Linked DNA regions of Homo sapiens: regions 2, 3 and 4 are each linked to region 1. The links are contacts of gene promoters, found by promoter capture Hi-C in blood cells and fetal thymus (Javierre and others, 2016). All regions are on one chromosome and are shown on one strand. The core of a region is centred on a gene start or on the middle of the fragment in contact, and the rest is flanking DNA. Distances in the headings are between cores, read along the strand shown. Region 1 holds the start of FAM237A (family with sequence similarity 237 member A). Region 2 holds the start of CRYGA (crystallin gamma A). Region 3 overlaps LOC105373854 (a long non-coding RNA gene). Region 4 has its middle 33 kb from the start of CRYGD.

The links. The method cuts DNA at HindIII sites, captures the fragments that hold promoters and counts their contacts. A CHiCAGO score of 5 or more calls a contact.
Region 2: a contact is called between the fragment with the promoter of CRYGA here and the fragment with the promoter of FAM237A in region 1, in 5 of 17 cell types (non-activated CD4 T cells, total CD4 T cells, total B cells and 2 more). The highest score is 8.1, in non-activated CD4 T cells.
Region 3: a contact is called between a fragment that was not itself captured here and the fragment with the promoter of FAM237A in region 1, in 4 of 17 cell types (total B cells, naive CD8 T cells, naive B cells and 1 more). The highest score is 9.0, in total B cells.
Region 4: a fragment that was not itself captured here is called in contact with the fragment with the promoter of FAM237A in region 1 in 6 of 17 cell types (total B cells, naive B cells, non-activated CD4 T cells and 3 more); the score reaches 10.7 in total B cells.

The regions. Positions count from the first base shown.
Region 1 is chr2:206,640,366-206,645,813 of GRCh38, forward strand. It overlaps FAM237A (family with sequence similarity 237 member A), which reads left to right and starts at 2,122. Exons shown (of 3, transcript NM_001102659.3): 1 at 2,122-2,217; 2 at 3,862-4,283. The coding sequence starts at 3,872. RefSeq lists enhancers at 1,312-1,893, 1,894-2,473. The HindIII fragment of the contact is 6,542 bases long and covers 1-4,683 here.
Region 2 is chr2:208,160,579-208,165,885 of GRCh38, forward strand. CRYGA (crystallin gamma A) reads right to left here and starts at 3,011. Exons shown (of 3, transcript NM_014617.4): 1 at 2,970-3,011; 2 at 2,626-2,868; 3 at 162-498. The coding sequence starts at 2,978. The coding sequence ends at 226. C2orf80 (chromosome 2 open reading frame 80) reads right to left here. Exons shown (of 9, transcript NM_001099334.3): 9 at 4,769-5,237. The coding sequence ends at 5,229. The HindIII fragment of the contact is 8,974 bases long and covers 1,169-5,307 here.
Region 3 is chr2:208,071,884-208,077,708 of GRCh38, forward strand. LOC105373854 (a long non-coding RNA gene) reads left to right here. Exons shown (of 4, transcript XR_923815.3): 3 at 380-477; 4 at 5,073-5,315. It overlaps LOC124905439 (small nucleolar RNA U13), which reads right to left and starts at 2,279; the gene lies at 2,178-2,279. The HindIII fragment of the contact is 4,110 bases long and covers 2,482-5,825 here.
Region 4 is chr2:208,088,981-208,094,859 of GRCh38, forward strand. No RefSeq gene overlaps it. Among named protein-coding and RNA genes, the nearest start is that of CRYGD, 33 kb to the right of the region's middle. The HindIII fragment of the contact is 238 bases long and covers 4,169-4,406 here.

The DNA.
Region 1 (5,448 bases), core at 872-3,371:
TTTCTTGGGCTTCAGAATGACGGATAAACTTTATTGACTCATGCATGGCACTACTTGTGTATTTAATTAGCTAGTTGTGTGTTTGTTTTTGATAGATAGCTGTAAACTCACCATTCAACATAGAAACTAGAAGCATAAATCATATATTATGTGTGTGCACACGTATACATATACACTATATATGTGTATAGATATAATTTTAAAATTAAAATATAAATAATTTTTTTCCATCACTCCAGACTCAACTAGCATGTAAGCTACATGCGTACAAGGACTTTGTTTTGTTCCTTCTGTATACACAGCATGTAAAATAGTGCCTAACACATAGGCACTTGAAAATAAAGTAAGCACTGCATGTTTATATATGAATGTTTTCAACAGTAATGTAACTATTGACACGTCCCAAACCAGGGGACACATCTTTACCTCTGTTCTGTTCGGCCTTCCCTCTCTACAGTCCTTTCTTTGACTTCGCTCCCTAGAAGCATGAACTGCGATGAGCACTCCCTTCCTGCCTTTGCTTGTACTGTCTTCTACCCCTGAAACTGCACTCCTGACCCTTTGGCTTTAGGATACCTGTACAACTCGTTTTTCCAGACATTCACGAGTCACCTCCAAATGCTTTCTCGATCTGACGATTATGTGTCTTGGGGTTGATCTTGTCATGGAGTATCTTACTGGAGTTGTCTGGATTTCCTGAATTTAAATGTTGCCCTATCTTGTTAGGTTGGGGAACTTCTCCTGGATGATGTCCTGAAGTATGTTTTCTCCAAAGGCATGAGCTCCTCAAAGTTCAGGAAGCAAGTCCAAGACTTCACCCTTGATCTTTTTCCACAGCCCTATGGGGTGAATAGAAGCAGACATTAGATACAGCTCACACATGGAGAAACTGAAGTACACTCCATCATTTCTGAGCAGGAGGAATAGCTCAGAGCCCCCCAGAACTCCTCTTCAGACCTCCTATTTAATGGTACCTTGGGGAAGGGGCTGGTTCTCTGTGGCTTCGGCAAATCTTACTACAAAGCCTTGTGCCCCTCGGAAGGTAACCATGGATACTATTGAGCTGGCACAAAAGCCTTCAGTTAGTGGAGACTACAAGTGGTTTTCAGGGGCTGAAGGAATTTTCAGGAAAGGGGCAAAACGTGGAAACACTTGCAGAGGGAAGACCTTTGCCTCAGGCCCCTTGGCTGGGTGTGTTTCAGTTAAGATGGGCACTTATGCTCAGAGGAGCACTGGAGCAGTGACAGGGCTCTAATCTGGGACTGGGATAGTAAGTAGCTGTGAGGTGAGAATCAAAGGGAATCCCAGGCGCTTTTTTTTTCTTGGAAAGCTGGGACCCTGCTGTGAAATCTGGAGCGGGGTTGTTGGGGGGTTGAGGTGCTGACCAAAGCGATGCCAGCAGCAACCCAGTCTCCTGAGTGACCCAGGCCAGGGTCTGGAAACAACGGGGTGTCCTGGCAACAGTCAGGGGGAGCTTCCAGCAGGGCGAAGTCCCTATCCTCATCTCTGCCCTCGGGGGTGTTTTTCTCCTTTCGGCCCAGGGCTACAGGCAGGAGAAATTCACACCTGGAATATCTCGAGGAGGCGCCTTATTTCCTCTGAGCCCTTGCTGAGTGTCGAGAGGCAGCTCATGTCCCTCCTCCGACCCCAAGAGTCCACAGTCTTCCCTCACACCCCTTTATTCTCGGACGAGGCCCGTGTGGTGAGCGGGAACCCCTGCTGTCCCCTGGACCAGCGCGGAGCTGGGCCCTAACTTTGCAGTTCCCGCCGCATCGGCACGCACCCGCGAGGTGGGAGCGGGAAGCCCAGCCGCATTAGAGGCTCAATTCCGGCAGGTGCAGAGTGGGTGCGGGTCAAGGCCAATGAGAGTGTGTGTGGCCAAGCCCGCTGGTTTCCTGAACCGAAATTCTCCGGGGAGGGAGAGAAGAGGAGGGTGCGGGAGACGGACTTGGAGGCGAGAGGTGGCGGCAGTTTCCAGGAGCTTTGACGTAGACTTGGAGAGGCGCCGAGCACTCCCACTGCTTAAGTAGAGGCACGGTAGCCTCCAGGACGCGGAAGCTGGGGACAGCCACTCGCTCGGGAGCAGCCTGAGCGTTTCCTCTCCGCGTACTCGAGGGAACTCTCTCCACGCGTTCGAGGGAACCCGGAAGGGGCCAGGCGGGTGAGTGCGGAGGGAAGCCCTTGTGCCATCTGGGAGTAGAGCCGCCGAGTCAGGAGGTGAGTGGGGCCCAAAGGACAGAGTGGGTCCCTGGCAGCTCCGCCCTGCGGAGGGTGAGGCTGCGCAATCAAGTGCGGGGCCGAGACTCAGCGCGGGGCTCGTAGCGGGGTGCACGGAGGACTCTAGGTTCAAGGAACTCAGAGAAACACCTTTCCAGGGTCTGGGAAGCCTCTCCTAAAATTTAGAAGGGGACCTAAAGGAGCCAATTTGAGCGCCGTGGCGCCAGCAGACAGGGAGTCCCGGATAACGCCAACTTCAGTACCTTGGACAGAGTCCTGCCCTCTGAAAACTTAGCTTAGACTTGTCCTTTAGGAAAACCACCCTTTGAGGTACCTCGATATTTTAGTTCGGAAAGGGACACAACAAATATGATTTCAAGTAGAGATAATGCATACATGATATGAAAGATAGAGGAAATAGTTTTTGAATAATCTTGTATCTCTAACATGCTTCTTCAATATAGGAACATGCATGTTCAAAGACACTTTCTGAAATATTTATTTAACAGTACCTAAACATGTCCTACTGCTGTTCAGAAGAGACAGATTATCCAACTTATGGTGTTATCATTAAATATTCCAATATAAGAGTATTCCCACAAGCTGTATTTTGCTTGCTTTCATGATACTAACATCTAAAAGGTTTGGAAATATAATACAAACCTGAAAGTGAGCTGTATGTGCCCTTCCTATTTTTTCTTTATGTTAGAGCTGTTTAAATGTGATACACATTTTGTATAGTCTGTGAAGGAATATATACACTTTTTCTGGCAAAAAAAGTGAACATTTGGGTTATTATTATTTCAAGAGCATCGTTTATCATTGCACCTGTCCGAAGTGGTAACAAAAGAACAATTTCAAAGTGGTATGTAGATGACTCAATTTTATGGCAACAGACATTGAAAGCCAGAAAAGTTGAATGAGAGTCACGTTTTTTAAAAAAAAAATCCTTGAGATTCATAGCAAGAACAGAGAGATTATAAAACATTATCTTTATGAAAGTTATATCAGAATTGCAGAACATTATTGGTATTTGTAAAATGCTTATTGATTCTACTCTAATTGGTTGAATATATGTCTCTTTGTTTCCACATATATTCATCCATACTTTTAGCACATTGTCTTTTGTTAATTTTACTATAACATTTGACAATTCTGATGTATTTTTTAAAAAAATTAAAAGTCACAGTGAACAGGAATGGATCTAAAGGTTAAATATATTTAAATTCTTAATTATATATAAGTCCTAGATTAGGAGAGCCAGGTTTCGCTAAGATATTATGGAATAGTTAAAGCCATGCAGCAAAATTTTAAATGTTCACTTAGTATGCTGTTAGGCTACATTCTTCTGTACCAGAGAAAAACAGATTAGCAGATTAATTTATTCATCTTGTAAAGGAACACATCTTAGGAGGGAATATGTCTTGGCCTGACCGTCTTGGATTTATGTTCACTCCCTGGCCTGGCAATGAGTCATTTTAGATAGAACGGAGCTTGTGATATGGGAGCTTGGCTAAGATTTCCCTACTTTGTGACAATGATGTGTTTCCTTTGCTGGAAGTAAGGTTATTAAGGGCATACTTATTTTCTTTACTGAGCAGAGCACAAGCGGGGACTGATAAGAAATATTTCCATCCTGTGCAGTTTTAGGGCCATGGCTGATCCTGGGAACAGAGGAGGGATCCACCGCCCCTTGAGCTTCACCTGCTCCCTGCTCATTGTGGGAATGTGCTGTGTATCTCCTTTCTTCTGCCATAGCCAGACAGACTTGCTGGCTCTTAGCCAAGCTGATCCTCAGTGCTGGGAATCCTCCTCAGTGCTTCTCCTGGAAATGTGGAAACCTCGCGTTTCCAACACTGTTTCAGGCTTCTGGGATTTTATGATCTACCTGAAGTCATCTGAGAACTTGAAGCATGGAGCACTGTTTTGGGATCTGGCCCAACTCTTCTGGGACATCTATGTGGACTGTGTGCTCTCTAGGAACCATGGCTTAGGAAGGAGGCAATTGGTTGGAGAGGAAGAGAAAATCTCAGCAGCGCAGCCACAGCACACAAGGAGTAAACAAGGTGGTCAACCCCAGCTCCCATGTCTTTTGAAAGGGTCAATCAAGTATGAATGTGCTGAATTGTGAGGAAGAGGGAAATGGCATTAGGGGAATCCAGTGTCATATATATTCCTCTCAAGAGGTGAACCCCAAGAGCACATAACTGATAGGAAGATAGATAGTACTTCTTTTTGCATTGCATAGTAGCTGTTTATATCAACATATTGTCCTCATCCTCATACTTCCTGTGAACAGCAGCAAGGAAGAGTCAGAAAGAAAAGACAAAAAGCATGATTCCCAAAATACAGCATAAAAGTATAAACAGATCCCCCAAGATCAACATTATTTTTTACTATTAGCCTGAACACTGGCAGTCATAACCTGATGTTTACTTGCCGTGGAATTGAGAAGACTTGAATATAAGCTTAGGAAACATTTGCAGCACACAAATTCTTGCCCTTGTTAAACTGAAAATAAATATTGCTTTCATGTAAATAGAGAGGCTCTTTGAGAGGTATTCAGTTGAAGAAATAAAGAGTAAAAAAGTCAGCTGGCATGTAGATTCACTTCATGTTGCTTTTTGAATGAATCTCAAGTAAGTAATTAACTTGCAGCAATCTGAGTAATTAATTTTTAGTAAGTTGGAACTTGCTACAAATTTAGAGTTTTTCATTGAAGTAAATACTATATTCAAATAGTCTCGTCTGAGGGTACAGAAAAAAAGTCCCTTATAGAATTAGAATGAGGTTGAGTAAGCCTCTGTGAGTAAGCAGAGAGATGCCTGAACCCTATACATATTATTGTTATCTTTTTTTGATGTCATTTCAACCAATGAGCATTGAAACCTTTTATCAAGGGCTGTTTGAGTGCCAGTAACTCTTTAGAATTATATATACAACAGTAGAAAACAGGGGCATAACTAATTTTTACATTTGTACATTTTAGTGTTAGAATTGTTACATATTCCTGTAACCTCCATATTAAAATAGCAATTAACAGTGGTAGTTCTAGTGCTACCCTTTCCCAAGATATTTTAGAGCTTTTATATATCTAGTTTGTTTTAACCTTAGTAATTAAAAATCCTCATGATTTGCTAATCCAAAAAACCCAGATAATTCATGGCTATTATTTACAGATAAGTTTATTATTTTGGTAAGTGTTATTGTAACTCAAACCAATTTCATTTT
Region 2 (5,307 bases), core at 1,761-4,260, 1.5 Mb after region 1:
GTTACTTGGGAGGCTGAGGCAGGAGGATTGATTGAACCTGGGAGGCGGAGGTTGCAGTGAGCCGAGATAGCGCCATTGCACTCTGGCCTGGTGACAGAGCAAGACTCCATAACAAAACAAATTATAAAATAAATAAATAAAGATAAACAAGAGCCACTTAGTGCAGGGAACACAACTTGTATATTTATTATGTTTCTATGGGGATCACAACAAGGCAGGCACAGCTTAGTACAAATCGGTGACCCGTCTCAAAGAGCCGACTTTGGCATCTGCACCCCCCCAGTCGTGGTACCTTCTGTAGTCCCCAGGCCTCAGCAGATACTGCCGCCCCCGGTAGTTGGGCATTTCATAGAGGACCCAGCAGCCCTCCAGTACGTGGAGGGAATAGATCTCAGGGAGACGGAACAGTTCTGGAACACAGGCGCAGTCATCAGTGAGCTCAGACATAAGGCCTCGGTAGTCATCTCTCTCGTACAGCCTTAACTTGTGCGAGCTGGTCTGTCATGGCAATAAACAAAAGAACAAAAATAAACAGCATGCATCCTTGGGTGTCAACGAAAGTGACACAATCAGTCTGCATCTTCATGAAGCATGGCTTTTATTTTATTTTTGAGATAAAGGTCTTGCTGTGTTGCCCAGGCTGGAGTACAGTGGCAGGATCACTGCTCACTGCAACTTTCACCTCCTGGGCTTAAGTAATCCTCCCACCTCAGCCCCCCAAGTAGCTGGGATCACAGGTGTGCACTGTGACACCCGGCTAATTTATTTTTAAAAATTTTTTTGTAGAGAGGGAGTCTCACTATATTGCCCAGGCTGGTCTTGAATCCCTGGGTTCAAGTGATTCTCTCACCTTGGCCTCCCAAAATGTTGGGATTACAAATGTTGGGATTGCACCTGGTTTGAAACATGGTTTTTTAAACCAGTTGATAAAGTGTTTCTCCCCTGAACCCACTTTCAATGTTGTTATTCTAACAAATTAGGGAAAATATTAAAACGAATCTGACCTGATCAATGAACTGGAGATGTTGTGGAAGAAACAAACATTAAAATACAGGGAATAAAAGTGTGTTCTTTGTAAGCAATCATCAATACAATTGTAGTCAGTGAGTCTGTAGTGAGGATTTCAACTCTCATTTCCATTTTGACTCCATATAATTGAGTCTTATCAAGCTTGTTTTTGAGTCACTTTTTGCACTTATAATTTACAGTGATTTATATTTACACTGAGTCCACATGTATTTTCAAGTGACATTTTGCCAAGTCACTTGTGCCATTTGGGTTTCTTGCCCCAGAGAAATGCCTATTTTATTTATACCTCTTTGCGCATCTGCAAATTTTTCTGGCCTAAATTTGTTTTTTTATTTTTTTATTTTTTTTTAGACGAAGTCTCGCTCTGTCACCAGGCTGGAGTGCAGTGGCATGATCTCGGCTCACTGCAACCTCCGACTCCTGGGTTCAAGCAATTCTCCTGTCTTAGCCTCCTGCTTAGCTAGGACTACAGGCATGCACCACCATGCCTGGCTAATGTTTTGTATTTTGGTAGAGACAGGGTTTCACCATGTTGGCCAAGCTGGTCTTGAACTCCTGACCTCAAGTGATCTGCCCAGCTCAGCCTCCCAAAGTGCTAGGATTACGGGCGTGAGCCACTGAGCCTGGCCGTGATTTCAATTCTTGAATCTCCTTGTCACACTACATAATTTGGTGCCAACAGAAAGTGTAAATACATGCTGCACGTGATTAAAAAAGATTAAGCAGCATTTTGATGAGGACCATGTTCTATGAAATCCTAATCAATTGTGTGTCTCTGATATTTATAAGAAACTAGTTGATAATGACTCCTGGAAATTATAAATCCACACAAGTTGAAACATATTTTCCTAGGTTCTAGTAAGTCCTAGAATGTAGTGAAAAAAATTTCCAATGCAGTCAGAATACATTATACCTATATTGTTATCTCATAGTCTGTTAACTTTTCATCATTAAAAAATAATTATCATGGCCGGGCGCAGTGGCTCATTCCTATAATCCTAGCACTTTGGGAGGCCGAGGTCGGGAGTTCGAGACCAGCCTGACCAACATGGAGAAACTCTGTCTCTACTAAAAATACAAAATTAGCTGGGCATGGTGGCACATGCCTGTAATCCCAGCTACAAGGGAGGCTGAGGCGGGAGAATCGCTTGAACCTGGGAGGCAGGGGTTGTGGTGAGCTGAGATTGTGCCATTGCACTCCAGCCTAGGCAACAAGAGCGAAAGCGAAGTTCTGTCTCAAAAAAAAAAATTATCTAGATAAACTAGATAGACTTTTCTTTTTTTTCTTTCTTTCTTTTTTTTTTTTTTTACTACTGAATAAGGTGACTTTTATGTAGAAATTAGGGATCACCTAGATGTTACCAAGTTTAATTTAAAGGCTATGTTGTGATTTCCCATGCCCTAAAATGATGTCCTTAAGTAAGAAAAATAGAGATTATTGTTACTTTTTTTTTTTATATATGTTTGAGGGTCAGGCCTTGCTATTCTTACTGTGAACACTCATCCTGTGTTGGAACAAACTGACTTTTATAAACAGGAATTGATGGCCATGGATCATTGATGCTTTCACATCAGTCAAGTTGAAGCAAGACTCACATGAGGAATTATACGGCAGGATTGGACCGAGTCGCTGAGGCCCATCCAGTGCTGATAGTCGGGGTACTTGCCTCGGCGCAGGAAGTACTGGTGGCCCTGGTAATTGGGACGCTCATAGAGCATCCAGCAGCCGCTGTCTACTCGGATGGAGTTGCAGCGGCTGAAGTAGACCCGCAGGTTGGGGCAGTCACTGATGCAATTGTAGCAGCGACCCTGAAAGTCTCGGTCCTCGTAGAAGGTGATCTGAGGTAGAAATAAGGTGACAGTAGACAGTCAGCTGGAAGGAACATCCCCACACACCACAGACCCCCAATAGACATGGCACAGCACCTCCACAGGCTCACCTTCCCCATGGTTGTTGACAGAGGGTGATTAGCATCTAGTATGATAGGGACAAAGGGGCAACTGGTATATATAGCAGGGAAGCTGCTGTGTTGGCAAAAACAACACAAAAGGGACCTGGGGGTGGTGCGTAGGGGGATTTCTGTATTCTCTTTTTTTTTTCATTTGAGATCATGGGGCAGTGGGCTCTCTCTCTTTCTGGCATTTTCGAGTTGTCCTCACTAGCTCCAGTGAAAGGTATTAAAGTCAGCAGAGCCATTATGACCTTGGAGACAAAGGGCACACTTCTCATCCTATGCAGCTCACTAGAAATGCATTACATGCCCAGCATTCTGCAATGTTTGCCTATGGAAACTGCTGAGATGGAGGTTGGTGGTTCCATCTGAGGTCACTTATGAGAACACATGCGTTCCAGAAGGACTTGAAGTGTGAAGAGGCAACAAAAAAAATCCCAGACAGAAAATCCTCTAATTGAAAGACAATTATATTTCTTAAGTGACTTCATCAGTATGATAGGGTTTTGATAAAAATATTTTGCCTATATTTATGTAGGGAAAACATAAGATTAGAAGTGTGTACTATACCAACATATCAATCATGGTAATCAATGAATGGCAAGATTATAGATCTTAGCTTTATGTTGTTATATTTTGTTTTTTGCTGCTGTTTTCTTAATTTTCTATTATATCTGCCATCTTCAGCCAGACAGAAAAAAAAATTCGATTATAAATATAACAATTTCATGAGATGAAAAAATAATAAAATCAATCTTTAAATGTATGACTTTGAGGTGCTGGTGAAAAGCAGTAAATACTGGAAGCAGGTATATTTAATCAAGAGATTAAACACTTCTTGAGCTAAAAATAAAAAGAAACCCTGAGAATCTGTGAGAGGCTCGAAGAGCAGAAAAATACACAGGAACATTTCACTCCCCTCCCCCTGCCACCCTCCTTCTAGCATTGCTTTTATTTTTTAAAATTAGCGTGATGATTTGCCTGTGTTTTTCCTTTCAATAGTATCACTGTTTCATTGAACCCAAGTGACTGCCTAACAGCCTTCTCCATTGCTGCCAACTTATTGATTTAGAAGTACTCCTCAGATGTGCAAGTGTGGAGGAAGACTCCAAACCCCAGACTGTCTTTTGTCATTCCACATGTATGTAGGAAGATGAAATCAAACACCTTTGTGCTTTAGACCCACCGAGGGATTCTAAAAGAGTATTTGACCACAGCTAGCAACACATTCACAATGTCATTTGTGAAAATCCTCAGGCAGCATGTAAGGCAAACGCGCAGGTGGTAAAAGGAGAGACAGCAGTAGCTACCGAGAAAAAAATGTTTCCTCATAACTAGCAGAGCTAGGCAAAAGAAAACTGGGTGAAGTCCTATGAAGCTAAACACCTAGCAGTGCATGCAGGGACCGCAAGTTGCTGATTCCCTCCTTTGCCTCCCCCTAATTAGCTGCAGGCTTACTGGTAAATCTTAGAACCATAATCAAACCCAGTGTGGAAAACGCTGCATTGGTCTCCCAGCCCCACATGAGAATATACCACCATTTTCAGAAAAAGTCTACAATCTCCATCTGTGTTTTTGTACATGCTGATGAAAACTGTTCTGTAGACAGATGGCACACCAAAACCTTAAGAAATGTATTATGTGTACTGACATTCATGTGATCAAGTTGTTATTACATACATTGATAGGCTAAGCCATGTGCCTAATCAGCATTTTGGAAAGGTACTAAAAGACCAGAACATCTTCCCTCCTAGTAGTCATTATAGTCTACTGAGAGAAAGCCTGTATTCATTTTTTTAATGCTTTATTGAAATGATTTAAACATTCTTTTCATATGAGAACACAGTAAAGGCAATCAATGACAGATTAATTTTATTTTGGATTAACTCTTTGGAAATCTGCCTCCCACTCCATCACTGTGCAATATTCAATGCCACACATTTGTAAAATGTGCTACAAAGCCAGCTTGCTCTAACACAGAAATACTATATACTTTCTGAATTCTCCAGCAGTCTTCCAGTCACAATGAAGTAGCATAAGGTCACAGTTTTTTTTTTTAAGAAAATGTAGCCATGCAATATGCTTCTAAAAGAAGAAAGCTCAACATCAAAAATAACACTTCAGTGCAGTTGTACCAAAAACAGTTGTAAAGAAAAATGTACTGGCAAGAGCTGTGGTTTTAAGATGATGCTTCTCGTCTGCTCCCAGAGAATCTATTATGAAGTTCCATGGTACAATTCCAATTTTCTAAGTGACCTGCAGAATAAAAGATGATTTTGGTATCAAGCACATCAATTTAACATGGACACAGACATTACTTTAAGTC
Region 3 (5,825 bases), core at 3,287-5,786, 1.4 Mb after region 1:
ACGCTGGAAATATCTTGGTTTTTAATCCTGATTACATCCCTAATCATTTAATGGGATGTGGGAAATTATTGATTGTTTTGCCTTATGTCTATAGGCAACATATAAAATTATATTTGTTCATCAGCTGCCTGAATAAAACCAATAATCCATGAGGTAGATCCACAGTAGCATGCTTTCCGTAGAGGATGTGGGGTACAGCAGATATGAGGCACTTGTGTGTTTGTGTGGAGGGGAGTACTAATAAATAAGAAAACGTCACATGTGTATGTATCTGTGCTTGAGGCAGCTCTTTGAGGATGTGTGCAAATCAAGAAAAGGGCTTTTATTTTGATTCCTTTAATTGTGCCTTATTAACTTTTTTTCTTTTTTCTTTATTAAGGTCAGTAGGCATTTGGTAGGAATCTGCATCAAACTGTTGGGCAATGGTAGACAGCAACATTGACGTCTGTAAATTTACACTTGGATTCTTAGTTTCTGGTGAGTAGTTTGTGCTCCTTCAACACTCAGTGAGAGATGATGATAAGCAAACCTTCAGCCTTCAGCTTTCCTGATGCAGTAGGAATTGCCACAAATGCCTGGCTGTGGTCGCCCTCTACTGGACGAATTAAGCCTAACGTTTAAAAGCCACCAGACCACTGTTCCCTTTATAATATCCTCTTCTGCCAAAGCCTACTCACCCTTTAGGTCTGAGAGAGGCCTCTCAGCATCCCCCCTTTCTCTCACCATCTCTGATATGTGTGTTCGTATGACTATTTGATTGACGTCTGTCTCCTCCCTTTCTGCATAGGCTGTAGTCTGCATGAGGGCAGGGACTCTGTTTGCCTCCGAGTGCCTGACACCATTCTTCAATAAATATGTGTTAAATGGATGAATAAAGGAGGAATGAAGGGCCCAAATGTCAAGAGTGAGCCTTTCACACTTCACTCTAGCTGACTGCAGCACGTAGGAGAAAATATAAATTCAAGGCATCTATCCTGCAAATTTTTTTCAAGCAACTTACGCTACTCTTAAAAACCCTGTTTATTAAAGTATTACATATATACAGAAAAGTGCACACATTGTAAGTGTCTAGTTCAATGAATTTTCAAAAACTGGTCACACCCCTGTAACCAGTACACAGATCAAGAAACAGAATGTCACCAGAAACCCAGAAACCCACCCGTGCCCTTGTGATTTTAACAGTATAGAGTTCTTTTGCATGTTTTTATATTTTATAAAAATGAAATCATACAATATGTACTTTTTTGCATCTGGCTTCTTTTCTTCTTTTTTTATTTTTTGTTTTTTTGTTTGTTTGTTTTGTTGTTTTTTTTTTTTTGAGACAGAGTCTCATTCTTGTCGCTGGAGTACAGTGGCATGATCTTGCTCACTGCACCCCCTGGGTTCAAGTGATTCTCATGCCTCAGCCTTCTGAATAGCTGGGACCACAGGCATGCATCACCACACCTGGCTAATTTTTGCATTTTTCTGTAGAGATGGGATTTCGCCATGTTTCCCAGGCTGGTCTTGAACTCATGAGCTCAAGTAATCGGCCTGCCTCAGCCTCCCAAAGTGCTGGGATTACAGGTGGGAGACACCACACCCAGCCTTGAAAACACATTTCAATATTTTGTTAAAGATGAGCAGAAAAGGGCCAGGAGCGGTGGCTCACACCTATAATCCCAGCACTTTGGGAGGCCAAGGTGGGCAGATCACGAGGTCAAGAGTTCAAGACCAGCCTGGTCAACATGGTGAAACCCCGTCTCTACTAAGAATACAAACATTAGCCAGGCATGGTAGCGTGTGCCTGTAATCCCAGCTGCTAGGGAGGCTGAGGCAGGAGAATCACTCGAACCCAGGAGGCGGAGGTTGCAGTGAGCTGAGATCGCGCCACTGCACTCAAGCCTGGGCAACAGAGCAAGACTCCGTCTCGAAAAAAAAAAGAAAAAAAGGTGAGCAGAAAAAGTTAATAGTGATTTTCCTTGGTAAAGCCTTAAGGTTTATACCAAAATCATAATCATAGAGCAGATGGCTGGAATAATACAAGATAAAGTTCACTCAACTTTAACAGTGCCTTCCCAGTATGGAAGGAATACAGAAGCTTCTTTCTCATGGGGAGGTGGTTGTGTTGAGGTGGCAAGGGCACTAAACTTATGATCAGAAGAACTAGGACTGAGTTTTGTTGTTGTTGTTGTTCAGGTTGGATGGGTAATGTGCCAGCGCTGTAACAAGGTTCAGAGGGAGGCACATATCACACTTAGGCACAAACACCAAATCATGCTCCTGAACTACAAAAGGAGTGAGTTTTACTTGGCCAGTTACCATTTCTGAGCTTCGGGTAGGTCATTCACTCTCTGAGTTTCATCTGTTAAAATGGACATGCCAATATCTGTCCCATAGAATTGTGTAGGGGAGGAAAAAAATATTTTTTCCTCTACTCTTTCTGATTCTTAGCACAAAAGATAGATTAACAAACTTATTTAAGTTTTACATGACATGGGAAGCTTCATAAGGAAATGAAGACCCAAAGAAGCAGTTAAATGTGAGCGTTGTTTATTGTAGGTTTAGTGAAGAGTGGACCACTGTGGAGAAATGTGGTAGGGCAAAAAGGGTATGATCTAATGGTAAGAAACGGGGAAACGCAGCAAGGCCTGTTTGTTCACTTTAAAATTTTTTTTTTTTTAAATAGAGAGAGGGTCTTGCTATGTTGTTCAGGCTGGTCTCAAGCTCCTGGGCTCAAGCCATCCCTCTGCCTCAACCTCCCAAATTGCTGGGATTACAGGCATGGGCAACTGCACCTGGCCCTCTGTTTTCTTTAAGACCAAGAAGTAAGACCTAGAGTGTTGAAAAACGGATAGTACTGATAGGGTAAGTGGTTACATAAAACTACATTACATAAATTACATAAATATTTCCTGGAAGCTCTGAGCCTGTCAACTGCCCAGCGTGATTCCTCACCCTGCCCTGTTCTGCACTGTGGGAACCTTTAGTCTGCAGGCTTCCTTGCTCCGTGAGTTTTGTATATTCTGCTGGGGACAGGCATGAGTGGATGGGTATTTCTCCCGCCTCTCTGTGCTTCCTGTGATGTCTTCCACAGCAGCAGAGTCTCTTTCAAGGCTCTAACTCCCTCTGAAAGGCCCTCCCTCCATGGTCCAGACCCCTGCAAGGGAGCCTCTATAATGGTTCTATTTCCAGCCAGACAATTCTAGCTTTTAGGCTGAGAATAGCATCTCTTCCTACTGTCCCTCCAGCCCACGGATGTTAGCTGATTCTTGCTGTCGCTAATCTCCGGGTTACGTCACCACCCCGTTTGGCATCTCAGCTCTTCTATCACTTTTATAATCTATTTCCTGAATTAAATTCCCCTGGATTGAAAGAGTGGCTTCTATTGTCCTGACTTGATACACTCTGATTTCATTCCTCTTCCACAAAAATGCTCAGTTCCTCACATTTATAGGAATATTTTTCTCCTTCACAAATTTTCCTCTTCTTCTCTCTACTGTGGAGGAACTAGCGTGGATTTGGAATCAGGCTGGGTTCAGACTTGGGTTCTGTTATTTCAGAACCATATGACTTGGGGTAAATTGCTAGCTTATAATAAGTGCTGAATAATTGTTTGTTAATGAATGAATGATATTTAACCATTACAATGCCTTCTGAAGATTTAAAAATTTTTTTATTTAAAAATTTATTTTGAAAGGGCAGGGTCTTGCTATGTTGCCTAGGCTGGAGTGTAGTGGCTACTCACAGACACAATTATAGTGTGCTATAGTCTTGAACTCCTGAGCTCAAGAGATCCTCCCACCTCTGCATCCTGAGAAGCTGGGACCAGAGGTCCATGCTGCTGTGCCCAGCAAACATTTTTGAGTGGTATAAATACAAAGCATTAGTAGTATACAGTTGTTCTAGAAGGACTCATTTTTAAATATTTTCTAAAATTATGTATATAAAGAATTTGGTGTAATCCCAGCACTTTGGGAGGCCAAGGCGGGTGGATCACGAGGTCAGGAAATCGAGACCATCCTGGCTAACACGATGAAACCCCGTCTCTACTAAAAATACAAAAAATTAGCCGGGCGTGGTGGCGGGCGCCTGTCCCAGCTACTCGGGAGGCTGAGGCAGGAGAATGGCGTGAACCCGGGAGGCGGAGCTTGCAGTGAGCCGAGATCGCGCCACTGCACTCCAGCCTGGGCGACAGAGCGAGACTCCATCTTAAAAAAAAAAAAAAGGAAGAATTTGGTCTTCAGGAAGACCATACTCAGGAATATGTGGTATTTGTTCAGCATTAGCTTCATCGCATAACAAGCCATGAGGGTTTTTCTCTTTTGCCTTTATAACTCTATAGACTCACATAACTATTAAAATACTATCACCTTGCATTATAATTATCTCATTTACCGTTATTACTGTTCTGCCTCCCTCCCTCTAGACTATAAATCTCACGTAGTACTTGGCACATAGAAAGCTCTCAAGAAACACTTGTTGAGTGAAGAAATATGCTATTTGATGTCTTATGTGCCTGTGTCCTTAAGCCATAGCATGCATGGAGGCCCTGAGCCATAGTAGAATTTGAATAAATGTTTGTTGTGTTATGAATCCAATATTTAAACGAGTCCAAAGGATTTAGCACTAGTTTCAATGATGAAATCAGTCAAGTCAACTTTTATTTTTAAACTGGATGTCAATTACTAATCACTTGCTAATCACTAGTTTCTAAACTAGGAAAGAGAGATGCTTTGGTCCAGAGGTTGTTTGAGTGAAGTAAGCATTTAGGTACTTGTACACTCAGTACTTCTAGACTTCCATCAAAAATTCTTCCCCGCTAAAACATTGCACTTTAGGGGTGTTTGAGTCATCCTTGTGTGGCTGAGAAAAAAAGTCCTAAAAAGTGACAAGCTAGAATGGAGGAGGGATGTCACTCTTTCCAAGATCTAACAGAACAAAGAACAGCATGATTATGGGGGGCTCAACTGCTTTGTTTGCCCGTGGTTTGAGTTTGGCCAAGGGTGAATACCATTAAGGGATCTGAGAGTGGGAGAAGAGTGAGGCCAGGATATTTATTCACCTGTTTCCCTATTGCTGTGTCTCCACAGGTTGGCTGCATCCTTCTTCTGAAGGCCACTGCTCTTTTCAGAAGACCTCCCTAGATGGCTAAGCTCTCTGGGTTGCAACAGTTGCTCTTTTTCCTTGAGCCTTAGGTTAGGGAGTTGGGAGGAAGTAATGGCTTCCCCCACTGCTAGCTCCAGGGTGCTACACTTTCTCTTTTCTAGTTTCCCTAATCTGGCTTACACCATTATAGATAGACCCTTTATTAAAATATCCTCAATTTATCCATATTGAGTGTGCCATCTGCTTCTTTTTCGGATGCTGATGCTTCAGAGTGATATGGGAAAGTATCCCAGGCATTTTTGTCTCATTCATCACACCTAGAAAGATAATTTAGGATTTGATGATGAAATAGCATGGTAGAAAATATAGCATACAAAGTTTTTCCTTGGAAGACAATCACTGGACATTCTCAAGAATGGCAAGAGAAGGCATAATAAAAATAGCTGCCAGATGGGGGACAGGACTGACTTGCAGCTCTCATGCTGACTTGCAGCATGAGGAGACTCACATTGTGAACTTTTGCTCCAAGAACTACTGCAAGAACATACCAGGAAAACCAAAAGAATTCACAGACCCTTTGAAAGAAGAGTTTGCCGCTGCAAACTCCAAGACACAGCTGAAAAACCGTGAGTGCCCAGAGTGTGAGAGGGGGAAAGTCTCTTTCCAAACACACATCCTCACTGGGGAGCCTGAAAATCCATATCATGGGAGAAGGATTTAACCTTACCTAGAGCTGA
Region 4 (5,879 bases), core at 3,038-5,537, 1.5 Mb after region 1:
TGTCCCTGCAGAGAGAGCCAACAGAGGAAATAGGGGAAGAGGAAGAATGCTCCTAATCAAGTTGTAGAGAACTTACCAGACACCAAAGTCTGACGTATATCAATTAAAGAATTTGGAAACTCAACGTGGAAAAAATGGCAGCCAGAAATAACATACAGATTTCCTCTGGGCGCGGTGGCTTACGCCTGTAATCCCAGCACTTTGGGAGGCCAAGGTGGGTGGATCACCTGAGGTCAGGAGTTCAAGACCAGCCTCTCTACTAAAAATAGCATCTCTACTAAAAATTAGCAAGTATGAAAATTAGACGGGTGTGGTGGCAGGTGCCTGTAGTCCCAGCTACTTGGGAGGCTGAGGCAGAGTGGCGTGAACCCGGGAGGCGGAGCTTGCAGTGAGCTGAGATTGCGCCACTGCACTCCAGGCTGGGTGACAGAGTGAGACTCTGTCTCAAAAAAAAAACCAAAAAAACAAAAAAATTAGCAAATGTGGTGGCACACACCTGCAATCCCAGCTACTGGGGAGGCTGGGGCACGAGAATCGCTTGAACCTGGAAGGCAGAGGTTACAGTGAGCTGAGATTGCGCTACTGCACTCCAGCCTGGGCAATAAAGTGAGACTTTGTCTCAAAAAAAAAAAAAATACAGATTTCTTTTAAAATCTCATAACACTCTTCCATAATCTGAAGACAAACAGATTTATTACAAAAAAAAAGGAGTTAAAGTCCATGAATTCATAAATATCTTTATTAAAGAAGAAAAGATAGTTTTATTTCTCTAAAAGAAAGGCAGGCTGTCTTAAATTAGCTTCCATCAGCATTTAAAAAAATATTTAAATATTAATAACTGCCCACTTGGAGGAGAGTGAAGGAAACTGGCTTGACATTGAATGACTCTGCAAGTAGTCATTTAATTATAGAGTAGCTCCATGTGTCTACCTTACAAAAAAGTAGAACACTTTCTAGTTTAAATATTGGCTTCCTGAACAATTATCGCATTTGCTTCTTAAAAAATTCTGGCAAGGTAGTAGGGTAGGAATTTCTGTTGGTGTTTGAGAGACAAGGACACTGAGGCTCAGAGCTGCATAAAATCATGCAAATAACAGGAAGCACATTTGAGACTTGGCTTCCAAGCTTGTGATTCCAAATCTAACTTCTCACTGCATCATCCTACTGCTCATTAAAAGTGGGAGCTTTACAAAGCCTTGATTTCAGAGCAGTACAGAACTTTACAGAAGTTCAAAGTCTGGTTTTCAAAATGAGATAATAGATTGAAGGACCACATTAGGTATATAGTAGTGGGTTGCTTAATTTTACGCGTCAACTTGACTGGGCTAAAGGATGCTGAAATATCTGGTAAAACATTTCTGGGTATGTCTGTGAAAGTGTTTTGGGAAGAGATTAACATTTGAATCAGTAGACTCGGTAAAGAAAATTAAGTTCATCAATACAATAATTTTATCATTTTATGGATAATTTTATCCTTTTAGGGCCCAAATAGGTCAAAAAAGTAGAGGAGGGTGAATTCACTCTGTTTGAGCTGGGACATCTGTCTTTCTCTGCCATCAGACATCAGTGCTCTTGGTTTTCAGGCCTTTGGGTCTGAACTGGAGCATACACCATTAGCTCTCCTGTTTCTCAGGCCTTCAGACTTGGACTTCAGAGTTCCAGTGGAATTGCATCACCAGTTTTCTGGTTCTCCAGTTTACAAACAGCAAATTGTGGGACTTCTCAGCCTTCATAATCACATGAGCCAATCCTCACTACAAATCTCCTCTTATATACACATATGTTGTTGGTTCTAGTTCTCTGGAGAACCCTGAAGAGACCTGGCCATTCAAAGGCATGGGATAATTTGTAGATAACTCTAAGGCTTGCCTTTAAGAGATCAGTAAGTTCATTGGCCCTATTTTCTACACAGCTCATGATAGAAAAATCTTAAAACTTTACACAATAATTCCATTCCAGGGTCTACTTACCTTTACCAACAGGAAGTGCTTATCTAACCTGAAATTTTTCAGTACACTTTTTTTTAAACAGTCTAAATTTATTTATTTATTTGTAGATTACTCTAAGGCTTGCCTTTAAGAGATCAGTAAGTTTATTGGCCCTATTTTCTACATAGCTCATGATAGAAAAATCTTAAAACTTTACATAATAATTCCATTCCAGGGTCTACTCACCTTTACCAACAGGAAGTGCTTATCTAACCTGAAATTTTTCAGTCATATTTTTTAAAACAGTCTAAATTTATTTATTTATTTATTTATTTATTTATTTGAGATGGAGTTTTGCTCTTGTCACCCAGGCTGGAGTGCAATGGCACAGTCTTGGCTCACTGCAACCTCCGCCTCCCAGATTCAAGCAACTCTCCTGCCTCAGCCTTCCCAGTAGCTGGGACTACAGGCACCCACCACCATGCCCAGCTGACTTTTGTATTTTTGGTAGAGACAGGGTTTCACTATGTTGGCCAGGCTGGTCTCGAACTCCTGACCTCAGGTGATCCACCCGCCTCGGCCTCCCAAAGTGCTGGGATTACAGGCATGAGCCACCATGCCAGGCTTAAAACAGTCTAAATTTCAAGGAAGAAGAAACATGTTCTACTTCATAAAGCTGCATGTGATAGGGTGCTAACTGGGAAATCGGAGATGCTCTCCATAGACTCCACTGTCAGTGTCTGTGTTCCTAGTGAATGAGGGAGCCAGTGACTAGTTTGCCTGTTTGTTAGCAGGAGTGTCTGCTACATGCTGTGGCATGAAGCAAGTTATCAATTTTCTTTGGACTTTGTAGTGAGCATACTCAGGTGATGAGCACTTGTTTTTTTTTTTCTTTCTTCTTCTTCTTCTTATTATACTTTAAGTTCTAGGGTACACGTGAACAACATGCAGGTTTGTTACATATGTATACATGTGCAATGTTGGTGGAGCACTTGTTTTGTTTTGATTTTTCTTCTTGGAATCCATTCTACCTTCAAGTACTCCTCTTTTCCTTAGAAAACAGACCTCATCTCAATAAAAATATAAATAAAAATTAATTAATTAATTTCAATCAATTAAATTTGTTAATTAAAGAAATTTTTCCAGCTTATATTTTCAAAAGTAATGAAGTTTTGTGAACATTTTCAATAGCCCAACCTAAATTTATAATTGAAGATAAAGTAGACTGCTTCAAGAAGTCTAAATGAACAGAAATCTCTCTTGCTAAAGATAAGTGTTCAATGCTTTGCATTTAATCCCCAAAATACTTTAGATCCAACTTTGCTTAGAGAACACCCAGTAAAAGATAAGCAACAGCTGTTATGTTTGACCTACATGTGACCTCTTCCTCATTCTCATTCCATGTGGCTTAAGTCTCATTGACTCTATCTCCCAACTCCAGGGTTTGCTTCAGCCATTTAGAGTATTCTAAGGCTGAAACAGTTGAGGACCACTGAATTAGTCAGGGTTCTTCAGAGAAACAGAGCCAATGGGATGGATGGATAGAGAGATAGATAGACAGATAGATGAAAGAGGATTTATTATGGGAATTGACTCCTGTGATTATGGAGGCTTAGGAGTCCCCTGACAGGCTACCTGCAAGGTAGAGAACCAGGGAAGCTGGTAGCATGGCTCAGTCCAAGTCCAAAGGTCTGAGAACCAAGAGAGCCATTGGTGTAACTCTGGGTCTGAGACCAAAGTCCAGAGAAACTGAGGGACTGCTGGTGCAAATCCTGGAGTCCAAAGGCCAGAGAACCTGGAGTTCTGATGTCCAAGGGCAGGAGAAGATGGTGTCGCAGTTGCAGAAGAGAGAGCAAATTCAGCTTTCCTCTGCCTTCTGGTTCTGTTTGGACCCTTAACTAATCAGATGGTGCCCACCCACATTGGGTGAGGATGGGTCTTCCTTACTCTACTGATTTAAAAGCCAATTTCTTCTGGAAATACCCTCACAGATATACCAGAAATAATGTATTCCCAGCTATTTGGGTTTCTTAACCCAGACAAGTTGACACCTAAAATTAACTACCACAGCCACCATATGGAAAGAGCCTGCCTGAGAATAAAACCAACATAGAGGAAAGCAGAGTGGAGGAAGGAGAGGGCTACAGAGACCAGCTCCTGACGATCTCACCTGAGCCCCTGCATCCAGCCATGCCTGAAGGCTTTTGATTATGTGGAGCAATACATCCTCTTTTTGTTTAAGCTTGTGTGAGTTAGTTTTAGTCACTTGCAACTGAAAGAGTCCTGCCCAGCATATTATAACAGTGATCTCAGTTCAGTTATTTCTATTCTGATCTCATATAAGCTAATCTTACTTTCCTATTTTGCTAGAAGACAGAAATGAAGGTCAAATGTATGTCAAACATAACAGCTGTTGCTCATCTGCTGGGTGCTCTCAAAGCAAGATTGGATCTAATTTATTTTGAGGATTAAATGTAAAGCTTTGAACCCTTATCTTTAGCAAGGGAGATTTCTGTTCACTTAGACTTCTTGAAACAGTCCACTTTATCTTTAATTATAAATTTAGGTTGGGCTATTGAAAATGTTAAAAAAATTCATTATTTTTGAAAATATAAGGTGGAAAAATTTAATTAACAAATTTAATTGATCGATTTAAATTAATTAATTAATTAAAAATTATTTTTTAGAAGTGAGGTCTCACTTTTTTGACCAGGTTTGTCTCAAATACCCAGGCTCAATCAATCCTCCCACCTTGACCTCCCAATGTGCTGGTATTACAGGCGTGAGCCATCTAAGTTTCTAAGCCTGAAAAATTTCTAAGTTAAAAACTTGCAAGACTTGAAAAGAAGTGAGAGAAAGAATGAGGCTCATTCGAAAATGCAATTAGCAAATATTCTTGGGAGAAGACTCACTGAATTTCCAGTCCATATTTTCTGGCTTGTTTTCCTTAGGCAGGATAAAAATAATGACAGCTAAGTCCCTCCCTCCCTCCCTCCCTTCCTTCCTTCCTTCCTTCCTTCCTTCCTTTCGCAGGGTCTCGCTCTGTCACCCAGACTGGAGTGCAGTGGTTTCATCATAGCTCACTGCAACCTCCACCCCCTGTGCTCAAGTGATCTTCCTGCCTCAGCCTCCTGAGTAGGTGGGATTACAGGCACTCAACACCATGCCCGGTTAACTTTTTTTTTTTTTTTTTTTGAGACAGAGTCTCGCTCTGTCGCCCAGGCTGGAGTGCAGTGGCGCCATCTCAGCTCACTGCAAGCTCCGCCTCCTGAATTCACGCCATTCTCCTGCCTCAGCCTCCCGAGTAGCTGGGACTACAGGTGCCCGCCACCACACCTGGCTAATTTTTTGTATTTTTAGTAGAGACTGGGTTTCCCCGTTTTAGCCAGGATGGTCTTGATCTGCTGACCTCCTGATCTGCCCACCTTGGCCTCCCAAAGTGCTGGGATTACAGGTGTGAGCCACAGGCCTGGCCGCCCAGTTAACTTTTTTTTTTTTTTTTTTTTTTTTTTTTTTTTTTTTTTTTTTTTTTTGAGGCGGAGTCTCGCTCTGTCGCCCAGGCCGGACTGCGGACTGCAGTGGCGCAATCTCGGCTCACTGCAAGCTCTGCTTCCCGGGTTCACGCCATTCTCCTGCCTCAGCCTCCCGAGTAGCTGGGACTACAGGCGCCCGCCACCGCGCCCGGCTAATTTTTTGTATTTTTAGTAGAGACGGGGTTTCACCTTGTTAGCCAGGATGGTCTCGATCTCCTGACCTCGTGATCCACCCGCCTCGGCCTCCCAAAGTGCTGGGATTACAGGCGTGAGCCACCGCGCCCGGCCCAGTTAACTTTTTAAAGATTGTAGAGATAGAGTCTCAACATGTTGCCCAGGCTGGCCTTGAGCTCCTGCCCTCAAGCAATACTCCTGCTTCGGCATTCCAAAGTTCTAGGATTACAGGTGTGAGCCGCTC